Linked DNA regions of Homo sapiens: region 2 is linked to region 1. Evidence: promoter capture Hi-C in human tissues and cell types (Jung and others, 2019). All regions are on one chromosome and are shown on one strand. The core of a region is centred on a gene start or on the middle of the fragment in contact, and the rest is flanking DNA. Distances in the headings are between cores, read along the strand shown.

Region 1 (5,455 bases), core at 242-2,741:
TTGTGCTCCCAGAGTAGCAGCCTGGGGGTGGCTTGCAGTCATTTTTATAATTCACTTTTAATGGCATGCTAATTAAGGGGCGGGTTATTCAGAAATAGCTAGAAATGGGCAGTAACTTCCAGCTGTTTCCATGGCAAGGGGTGGGGACTTCCCGTGCTGCCGTGGCATTGGCAAACTGTCACGGCACTGGTGGAAGCGTCTTCTGGTGATCTGAGGCGTGAGGTGCTTTCGCTGCCTCTCCCAGTCTCCTGCGTGCCTCTTACCTGAAAGCCCTTCACACCCTCATCTGCCCACCTACAAACTTCACTGCCCTTTCACCCCAACCCCGTTTCACACGCACTCCCACATCAACCCTGAGCATTCAAGCTTGCGTTTCCCTGTTAGGAACCTCGGTGGTGGCCGGAGCTCTGAGAAACCCCTAGGCAGAAATCCTTGCCTAGTTTGTGGCAGAAATCAGGGAAGGAAAGGCAAAGTTCAGGTCTTTCTCACAATAAATAAATAAAGATAGCTAGATTTGATTGATTGGTGGATGGATGAAACGTGGGAGTTTATGGGCAAATATTTATCAGACACTGGAAGTGTAAGTTGTCACAAAGATTATGGAGTGCACCTGTCTTATGACCCTGTTATTTTATCCCAGTATATGCACTAGAGCATTTTTTGTAACTGTGTAAATTGAAGGCTTATAAATTAGTTTAGTGAGAGAAAAGATAACGGATTGGAAGAGAATTACCATATTCATTAGTTGTGTTTTTAAAATTTTAAAGTAAAATAGAGACATGATTTTTTTCATGCTTTCGAATGCATTTATAAAAAATAGACTTGAGGGCTGGGCGCAGTGGCTCACGCCTGTAATCCCAGCACTTTGGGAGGCCGAGGAGGGCGGATCACGAGGTCAAGAGTTCGAGACCAGCCTGACCAACATGGTGAAACCCCGTCTCTACTAAAAATACAAAAATTAGGTGAGTGTGGTGGCGCGCACCTGTAATCCCAGCTACTCAGGAGGCTGAGGCAGGAGAATCGCTTGAACCCGGGAAGCGGAGGTTGCAGTGAGCCGAGATCGCACCATTGCTCTCCAGCCTGGGTGACAGAGTGAGACTCCGTCTCAAAAAAAAAAAAAAAAAAAAAGTTACTCATTAATAGCATAGACCAATTGGCCTCTATTGAAATTTCTCCATTATTTTCACAATGTGCCAGGCTGTGAAACCAGGATTTAATAAAGAACCAGAATGCCACATCTGTGTCACCTGGGTAGGGACCAGTCCTGATCCATTAAGTCCGGGTCTCTGGGTAACTGGACTCACTGCTGGGCAAAACAGAATGTCCGGCTTGGGTTCCTAACCGGGGACCGCAGAGCCTCATGGGAAATGTAGTGTCACCTTCCAATGATGTTACCATCAAGGACCTTGGGAACCAGCTTTTCTCTCTGCGCATGCGCCGCCCCGCCCACTCCGCCATTTTCCTCCGGAAGTGCGGCACCCAGAGGCGGTCTTGTAGCTGGGCCAGCCTGGGGCTTGGTTCTATGTCCCTGCGGGTCGGTGCGAGGGCGAAGAGGAACCCGTGGGCCCGGGGGATCCCGGGGGGCCGGACCAGTGTTCCCCAGTTGTGGGAGCAGACGCGTGGGCGCATCGCGGGCGGGCAGGGCCTGAAGTGCAGGTGCAGGCCGCGGACCCTGGCGGGGGCTGGGAGGACAGGCGTGGGGTCCCGGCAGTGAAGCGGGTTCTAGAGGCGCAGGAGCGGGTAGGCGAGGCCGGTGGCCCTGGGCCCGGAGTCTGCAGGCCGCGCTCCTGTCCTGCCGCTGAGGGAGCCGGTTACCAACCCGCATGACGCTCAGTTTGCCCATCTGTCCCAGTGCGAACACACAGTTCTCGGGAGACGTTCCCCATTCCCAGAGGAGTAGTGCGAAACGCGTGCGCCTCGAGTCTTAAACTGGGCGTTTGTATTAGTTGGGTTTCCCGGTGTCTCTTTAGCAAGTGAAGTTTCTGGTTCCCTCCTTCACTGTGTGACCTGCCTAGTCCTCCTGGGTTGCGTTTACAGAAGTTTATACGAGACCTAGTTTCCAGGGAAGAACTCACTGATGCCGCGAGGGAGATGGGGTACTGGATGATGGTCTTCAGCCTTAAGGGTACTTCAGTCTTAACCGTGTGTTATAAGGTTTGAAAGGGAGGGTTCCCTATGAATAAGAAGCGCACTTGAAAGAACAGCCCTCTGGTCTAACCTCCCACTGGTGCTTCAGAGGAGGATAAAAGGTCACAGGTGAAGATCCCAGTTTTCCTCGCTCGGGAAATATTAATTCTACTCCCTAGAATGCACAAGATTTGCAAAGACTAGGTGACAGTGGTAGGTTTGGACGAACTTTCAGAAGGTTGAGGTGAATTCGGCTGAGAAGAACAGGCAAGGACCTAGGAAATATTCCTTATTTGAAGGGGCCTGAAAGTGTGGTCTGGGGTACAGGAGTGACCTGTCATACCTGAGAAGATTAAAATACTCTCCAAACACAGTCCCATTCCTTCAACCTTTCCTCGTTGTTTCCAGCGTTTGAGATATATTAAACCTAGTCCATCACCAAATTTAGCTTTAGCATTAGATTGTGAAGTTCTATCGATTGTATTTGATTTGTAATTTAAGACTTTCTCCCCCTACGTAATTTTGTTAAAAACATATTGAATTCTGTTCACTTAGGTGTAACAGTTAATACTTGCTGTTTAAGGAACTAATTAAACCTTACTGGCTTATAAAAAACAACCACCATTTTATTTGTTTGAAGTTCTGTGGATCTGCATTTTGGTGTGGTGGGTTCAGCTGGGTAGTTGATATATTTATGTTGCCTGGATCACAAAAGAGGCCTTGGTCACATGGTGGGTTGACTGAGCCTGGTTGGTTTAAGATAGTTTCCTTCACAATCTGGCGGTTTGTGGTGACTCTTGGCTAGGCCCTGTGTCTCCACCAGGGTAGCTCCAGACCTCCTCACAATATGACTGTGTCCAAAAAGGCAAGAACCAATGGATATTTGCATCACATTTTCCATTGTCCATTCACTGGACAAGTCAGATGGAAAAGCCCAATTTATTGTCAGAGCATAATATGAGGGCTTGGATACAGGGAAAGGTGTTATTGGGAAACATGAGTAGAATGGTGTACTGCAGGAAATACATATTATGTACATTTAAAAAAAAGTAATTGTAGGCCAAAATTGCTGGGTTGCAAGATGCACTTTCCATGATGTTCAGGTATAGAAAAGCAAGATGTACTGTCATGGGAACACTCATATGAAGTTATTTGTGGAATCCACATATTAATAGGAAAATAGTTAATACAGCCCAGTATATTTCTATAACATTTATTTTAGTGAACTTATAATGTTTCTTTGTATTAAATTATTAGATTGTATCTTTAGGTAATATTGTTGCTAAATTAGTAGGTAATACATATTTTTATTCAAAATAAATTGTGCATCTAATGTCTACCAATTAATGTACTTGTAGATGTATCTTATCTTGAGTCTTTGCTGCCCCTAATGAGGCTTGAAGGACTCTTCTCCCATGGGGAAGTTTTTCTTTTTCAGGAGGGAGGAGGGCTTTTCCAGGTAATGTGTCTAGAGTGTTGGGCAGAAGAATCTGGGACCACACCACACCAGTTCTCTCCTTAATTCACGTCATTTGCCTTCTCTCTCAGCTATGTTTCCAGTGTTCTCTGGCTGTTTCCAAGAGCTACAAGAAAAGAATAAATCTCTGGTGAGTTGTTTATTTGTTCTTCACTTTGTTTTACACTGTATTTTCTGAGTTTATGGGTGTCTGTGAATTAAAAAAGAAAAGTGGAAATAAGTAAAACTCAGGTTGAAGGAAATATACATAAATAAGATAAAGCTGACCTGTAGATATAGACAGGTTGTAAGAGCTTAGAGTTGTCTAAGTTGAGTGCAAATTTTCCTCTGATCTTTCTGATGCAGTGACAAAAAAGTCAGTCATGGTTGTTACGTGATTGGAATGGAACCCGCGAAGAGAGCATGCTGTGTTCTTGTGGGACAGGAAAGCTTGTGTGCACCAAGTCTGAACCACCACCTTCGGTGGTGACATAGGTTATGTGCTGGAACATATTTCACACCAGCCTGGCAGTAAATACTTGTAGTGTTGTGCAGTGGAAACGGTCATCTTCTGCTAAAGCACGGCATGTTGTGCAGTGGAAACGGTCGTCATCCGCTAAAGCACGGCGTGTTGTGCAGTGGAAATGGTCATCTGCCGCTAAAGCACGGTGTGTTGTGCAGTGGAAACGGTCATCGTCCGCTAAAGCACGGCATGTTGTGCAGTGGAAATGGTCATCTGCTGCTAAAGCATAGTGTGTTGTGTAGTGGAAATGGTCATCTGCCGCTAAAGCACAGTGTGTTGTGCAGTGGAAATGGTCATCTGCCGCTAAAGCACAGCTTCCATCATAAGGTATGCTCCTTGCTGTGGTGGAACATATTTCACACCAGCCTGGCAGTAAACACTTGTAGTGTTGTGCAGTGGAAACAGTCATCTTCCACTAAAGCACGGCCTGTTGTGCAGTGGAAATGGGCATCTGCTGCCAAAGCACAGCTTCCATTGTAAGGTATGCTCCTTGCTCAAAGAGTGTGGTCCCAAACAGCTTTTGGGAGGTGCTCCTTGATTCATGGATGAAACCTGGAACATCTTGAGAACTGAGTTAACCACAGGTCCTTAAATAACTCTCCACACCTTTATCTTAGTTTATCTCTACATGCAGGGTGTGCAGCAGCCTGTTCAAAGTTATATTTTCTGGGAAATACTTCCAGTGTTTATTTGCACTTTAGCCCACTCTGTGTAGTCCTAACTTATTTCTTCTAAACTCACCATTAACCTAAATAATAGTCAAATTTAGGGGGACTGTGATTGCCTTACTCGAGTCTTCTACCATAGTTGAAACTGTCGTATCCGAGCGAGTTAGAGAGAAACGCCACACTTTGAGACGAGTTCAGGAGTCCTTTATTAGCCAGCGACTGAGAGATGGCTAACGCACGAAATTCTCTCGGCCCCGGATAAGGGGCTAGCTTTTCTTTTATACTTTGGTTTAGAGAGGGGAGGGGGGATTCTAGCTGCAGCAACCTTACAGAAGAAAAAACAGACAAAAAAGTTAAAACGACAGATGGTTACAGGAAAACAAACTGTTCCAGGTGCAGGGGCTTTAAATTCACCACAAAGTGATAGGTGAGGGGGCTCTGGGCGTTAGCTGCCGGACAAATGTGCGGGCTTTATGATACTATCTCTGAGTAAATTGCTGGGAACTGCAGACATCACTTGCCTCAGCGCTTTATCAGTTAATTGCAGTCTTTGATATGTTGAAAGTCAGCTTGCACAAGTTAAAGTCCTTGAGGAAAGGGAGTGGGTAAGGAGCCCTTGATGTCTTATAAATGAAGGAGCCAAATGGAGTTTGTCCGGTTTTCTCAGCTAAGGGAGAGTCT
Region 2 (5,674 bases), core at 1,169-3,668, 230 kb before region 1:
GTGATCATCCCACCTGGGCCTCCCAAAGTGCGGGGATTACATGCATAAGCCACCGTGCCCAGTCGCCAATAGCCTTTATACATATTACTTCTGGGATTACATGCATAAGCTATCATGCCAGCCGCCAATTGCCTTTATACATATTACTTCTGGGATTACACGCACAAGCCATCGTGCCCAGTCACCAATTGCTTTTATACATATTACTTCTGGGATTACACGCATAAGCCACCAGGCCAGCTGCCAATTGCCTTTATACATATTACTTCTGGGATTACATGCATAAACCACCAGGCCAGCCGCCAATTGCCTTTATACAGATTACTTCTGGGATTACACGCATAAACCACCGTGCCAGCCGCCAATTGCCTTTATACATATTACTTCTGGGATTACACGCATAAGCCACCGTGCCCAGCCCCCAATTGCCTTTATGCATATTACTTCTGGGATTACACGCATAAGCCACCGTGCCAGCCGTCAAATGCCTTTATACATATTACTTCTGGGATTACACGCATAGACCACCGTGCCCAGTCGCCAATTGCCTTTATACATATTACTTCTGGGATTACACGCATAAGCCACTGTACCCAGCTGCCAATTGCCTTTATACATATTACTTCTGGGATTACACGCATAAGCCACTGTACCCAGCCACCAATTGCCTTTATACATATTACTTCTGGGATTACACGCATAAACCACCATGCCCAGCCTCCAAATGCCTTTATACATATTACTTCTGGGATTACACGCATACACCCCCGTGCCCAGTCACCAACTGCCTTTATACATATTACTTCTGGGATTACACGCATAAACTACTGTACCCAGCCGCCAATTGCCTTTATACATATCACTTCTGGGATTACACGCATAAGCCACTGTGCCCAGCCTCCAAATGCCTTTATACATATTACTTCTGGGATTACACGCATAGACCACCGTGCCCAGTTGCCAATTGCCTTTATACATATTACTTCTGGGATTACATGCATAAGCCACTGTACCCAGCCGCCAATTGCCTTTATACATATTACTTCTGGGATTATACACATCAGGCGCCGTGCCCAGCCTCCAAATGCCTTTATACATATTACTTCTGGGATTACACGCACAAACCACCGTGCCCAGTCGCCAATTGCCTTTATACATATTACTTCTGGGATTACACGCATAAACCACAGTGCCCAGCCTCCAACTGCCTTTATGCATATTACTTCTGGGATTACATGCATAAGCCACAGTGCCCAGCCTCCAAATGCCTTTATACATATTACTTCTGGGATTACACACATAAGCCACCGTGCCCAGTCGTCAATTGCCTTTATATATACCACTTCTGGGATTACACGCATACACCACCGTGCCAGCCGCCAATTGCCTTTATACATATTACCTCTGGGATTACACGCATAAGCCACCGTGCCCAGCCTCCAATTGCCTTTATACATACTACTTCTGGGATTACACACATAAGCCACCGTACCAGTCACCAATTGCCTTTATACATATTACTTCTGGGATTACACGCATAAGCCACCGTGCCCAGCCTCCAATTGCCTTTATACATATTGCTTCTGGGATTACACGCATAAGCCACCGTGCCCAGCCTCCAATTGCCTTTATGCATATTGCTTCTGGGATTACACGCATAAGCCACCGTGCCCAGCCTCCAATTGCCTTTATGCATATTTTACTTCTGGGATTACATGCATAAGCCACCGTGCCCAGTTGCCAATTGCCTTTATACATATTACTTCTGGGATTACACGCGTAAGCCACCGTGCCAGTCACCAATTGCCTTTATACATATTACTTCTGGGATTACATGCATAAGCCACCGTGCCCAGTCGCCAATTGCCTTTATACATATTACTTCTGGGATTACATGCATACACCACCGTGCCCAGTCACCAATTGCCTTTATACATATTACCTCATTTAAATATGCATTTTTCCAATGGAAGGAACTGGAGCTTAGATAAATTATATACCTCTAAAAATAACACCACACGGATTTTTAAAAAAGTCTTTAAGCATTTATTTACCTACTTATTTATTTGGCTAACGGGAAAAAAAAAAGCTTCCAGTCACAAATATCCCCAGTCACAAACATCACGATCCATGATGATAGAGCAAAATCAAATATGCTAAAAATTAGCCAAATATATTGCATACAGTAGGTCATCAATACATGCTTATTGAATTAATTAAAATCCAACTTGAAAAGGAAATTGAACCTGTCAAATATTTGTATATTTTATCTCATCAAATTTAGTTGTGCGTGAGCCAAAGAAAACATATAAAAAGTGTTTTATTTTGTAGGGACAGATGTATAAAATACCAAATTTTAATATACTAAAGGCATAGTTACAGTTTTCCTTTAAATATCATTTTGATCTTAATGATATGGCTTACTATTTTACTCTCCAAAAATAGTATACTTTATAATTATAATTGCTGGAACATGCCACTTTCTAGAATTATGACAAATAATTCATTACATATAAAGGCTTTATTTTAGAATGAATATATGAATGTTGGCTGTCATCCTAATTTGTGCCTCCCAAAAGATTGGTTTCCTACCTCTACATAGAGATAAAATAAAATTTAATCTTTAAGAATTCACATTTCTTGTTTGGCAAGAGTTTGTATTGCTACTAATTAGCTAAATTAGAAATTAAAGAATCTTGGCTACATTGAACTGGGCTTTGAATCTGTCTAAAACTGTTTCCTCAGAAGAGAACTGGTGAGGTGATTGCATCGAGTCACTGGGCTATACTGCTGAAAGGGGGATGACTGGAAACAATATTGTATCCTTAAAATTTCCATTGAGGAGCACAATGTCTACATATACACATTTGATTGCATCGAGTCACTGGGTGATATTGCTGAAAGACAGATGACTGGAAACAATATTGTATCCTTAAAATTTCCATTGAGGAGCATAATGTCTACATATACACTATTATCAGTTTCCCTTCAGAATTTTCTCTATATTTGGTTTTAATTATCCCAAATTCATTTATCCCCAATATTTAAGTTCCCCCTCCCTCTTCCCCTATATTTCCCCTTGAACCTTTTATCTTTTCTGTGTCCATTGCAGAGAGATCACTTCCTTGTAACTGAATACAGATCTGAATGCTTACCACTTGCAGAGTCCAATTCACAAGAGCGAGGTCTCGTATAAAGAAAGTGATTTTACTAACCAAAACTAGTAAAGGGGATGTGGCCGGATTCCCATCTAAACCAACCACTTCAATTTTGGGGGTGAGGGCAGGGGTTTAAAAGTGGAAACATTGATAAGGAAGGCATGCAAGAATTGTGCTGAGTACAATGTCTGTGTGTCTTGCTCTGGTGGCTATTTTGGGTCTCAGTCCACCTGAATCACGGGCTGGCAGCATCTCAACAATGGCGGGGTTGTTAACTAGCCAGCCACCTTGAAGTGATCGCGGGAATTTTGCAGCTGAGTCTCCAAGCTTCCTTTGTCAGACTCAAGATTAGCCCCTGCAACTTCTAAGAAGGCACACAGATGATAGCATACAATTAGATAAATGTGAAGGGAGTATACATGGTAGGAAAGGGAGGGATATGGAGTCTATTTTATAGCTAACAGAAAAGGCTTCCGCAGTTTTCTTCAAGGTTATATCTTGAAACCCAAGGTTAAAAAACAATAAAATGCATTTTGAAGTTAAGCTATCTGGTTACTTAATGAGGATTATAGCTCTGGGGGTCTTCTCTTTTCTAAATATCCCCAAGCCCTAGGATGTATTTTGGGCAATATTTTGTACTAAATATGTGAGTTCTAAATGAGATATTTATTTACCTTGTACTTTATGTTGCAAATTTCCTAAAACTGTAATTTTAACAATCTACACGTTTATATTTATGTGATGGTTTTGTTAATTTCATTTCAACACTTTTCTCCAACAAGTGGATTTATACAAAACTGACAATGTGAAGCTTCTTCAGCGTCCCCCTTCAACATCTTAATAGGATAAAATTAATCATAATTTTAAACTACATTTCTTAATTTAAAGAAAAAAATTATGTGGACATATTCACATTCAAGGTGAGCATCCAGCAAACAGTAAATCAGGCAGGTGGTTATATTTAGAAATAGTAGCAAAACATTTACAATTGATGCCATATGGCTTTCAGCCTAGTAGGGCCAACTAGCTGTGTTCAATGACTCTGGGGAAATTAGGCTGTTTGAAGGTCATGAATGCTAACTCTAAACCTCTGGGACAGTGACAGGAAGTTGGCAGCAATATGCAGGGAAATCATACCTCCAGCTGAGTGGATAAGCCTCCTTCATAAGTGGACCGAGGATTGTTCATGTTGAGCCTGTGCTCTGATTTGCAGACAAAGAACCAGGTATAACCACTATTGCTGCATATACACAGCAGGCAGTAACGTATATTCTGGTCCCGTCATTGTCTTTCTTAAACTAGCCAGGAGTCCTTATCATAATTATAAAGTTCAAATCCCCTTCCATTATCTTCCTGTTTGAGCTTACCTGATACCACTGTCCTCTGGACTAAGCCCCAGGCACATTAAGTTTCGAAGTTGACATTTTTATTAAGTTTTAAAGACATACTTGGAGAATTTTTTAATGCACAAGTATCTACAGATGTCCAACTTAAATAATTCCACTTTCAATGTGCTTTCCAGGGTTTCTTGAATGCCATTGAGAAATTACAATACATATAAAGAAAATAGAAAAGAAATAGTAATCACTGAATCACTGATTAGAAAAAAAAATAGCAAAAGCTAAAGCTTTTCATCAATTAAGTTTACCAATTTTCAACAAATAACTCAAGTGAAAAAAATAATTTATCTAATTGAAAATGGCTAATGCAGAGTCAAAGATTAAAATGTTGGAAATAAATTTTCTTCTTACATGCCAACCTTTAAGGAAAATATTATTGAACTTTTCTGGAACACAAAATCTTTGCAACCAGCATTATTATGTATCTTATTCACTTACATTAAACTAAAACTATATATGCATGAGGGAATGTTTCTTCAAATATTAACCATAAATAGGAATTAGAAAAATGTATAAAATTAGGTTGTATATTTCATTCCTAAGATTTTCTAGACTGAGTTTTCTGAAAGACGCAACACTATTCTCTTGATATTCTACAAATAAAAACATGCTACCCCAGAGCATTGGGTTCAGAACATGCTACCCCAGAATATGGCACCTTGGCATTTGAGAAAATCACAGAGAACGAAGGGCTCTGATTTTCTCCAATCCTTCTTCTCTGAAGCAAGCTGTAAGAGAATCGGATCTTCAGCCAGGCGCGGTGGCTTACGCCTGTAATCCCAGCACTTTGGGAGGCGGAGGTGCGAGGATCACGAGGTCAGGAGATCGAGACCATCCTGGCTGACACGGTGAAACCCCGTCTCTACTAAAAATACGAAAAAATTATCCGGGCGTGGTAGCGGGCGCCTGTAGTCTCAGCTACTCGGGTGGCTGAGGCAGGAGAATGGCGGGAACCCGGGAGGCGGAGCTTGCAGTGAGCCGAGATCGCGCCCCTGCACTCCAGCCTGGGCGACAGAGCAAGACTCAGTCTCAAAAACAAAAAAAGAGAAAAGAATCTGATCTTCCTGTGAAGTATGTTATAAGAGCCTCATGTGCCTCATATCTGGAGAGAAGGAA

Evidence for each region. Contacts are between HindIII fragments. The study calls those that stand out against the background at their distance.
Region 2: a fragment that was not itself captured here is called in contact with the fragment with the promoter of ZNF717 in region 1 in 2 of the 25 tissues and cell types used here (H1 embryonic stem cells and spleen).

Annotation. Positions count from the first base shown.
Region 1 is chr3:75,781,585-75,787,039 of GRCh38, reverse strand. ZNF717 (zinc finger protein 717) reads left to right here and starts at 1,491. Exons shown (of 5, transcript NM_001290208.3): 1 at 1,491-1,656; 2 at 3,676-3,734. The coding sequence starts at 3,678. RefSeq lists an enhancer at 1,229-1,378. The HindIII fragment of the contact is 7,615 bases long and covers 1-5,455 here.
Region 2 is chr3:76,009,036-76,014,709 of GRCh38, reverse strand. It overlaps a transcript of ROBO2 not described here. Among named protein-coding and RNA genes, the nearest start is that of ZNF717, 230 kb to the right of the region's middle. The HindIII fragment of the contact is 3,919 bases long and covers 459-4,377 here.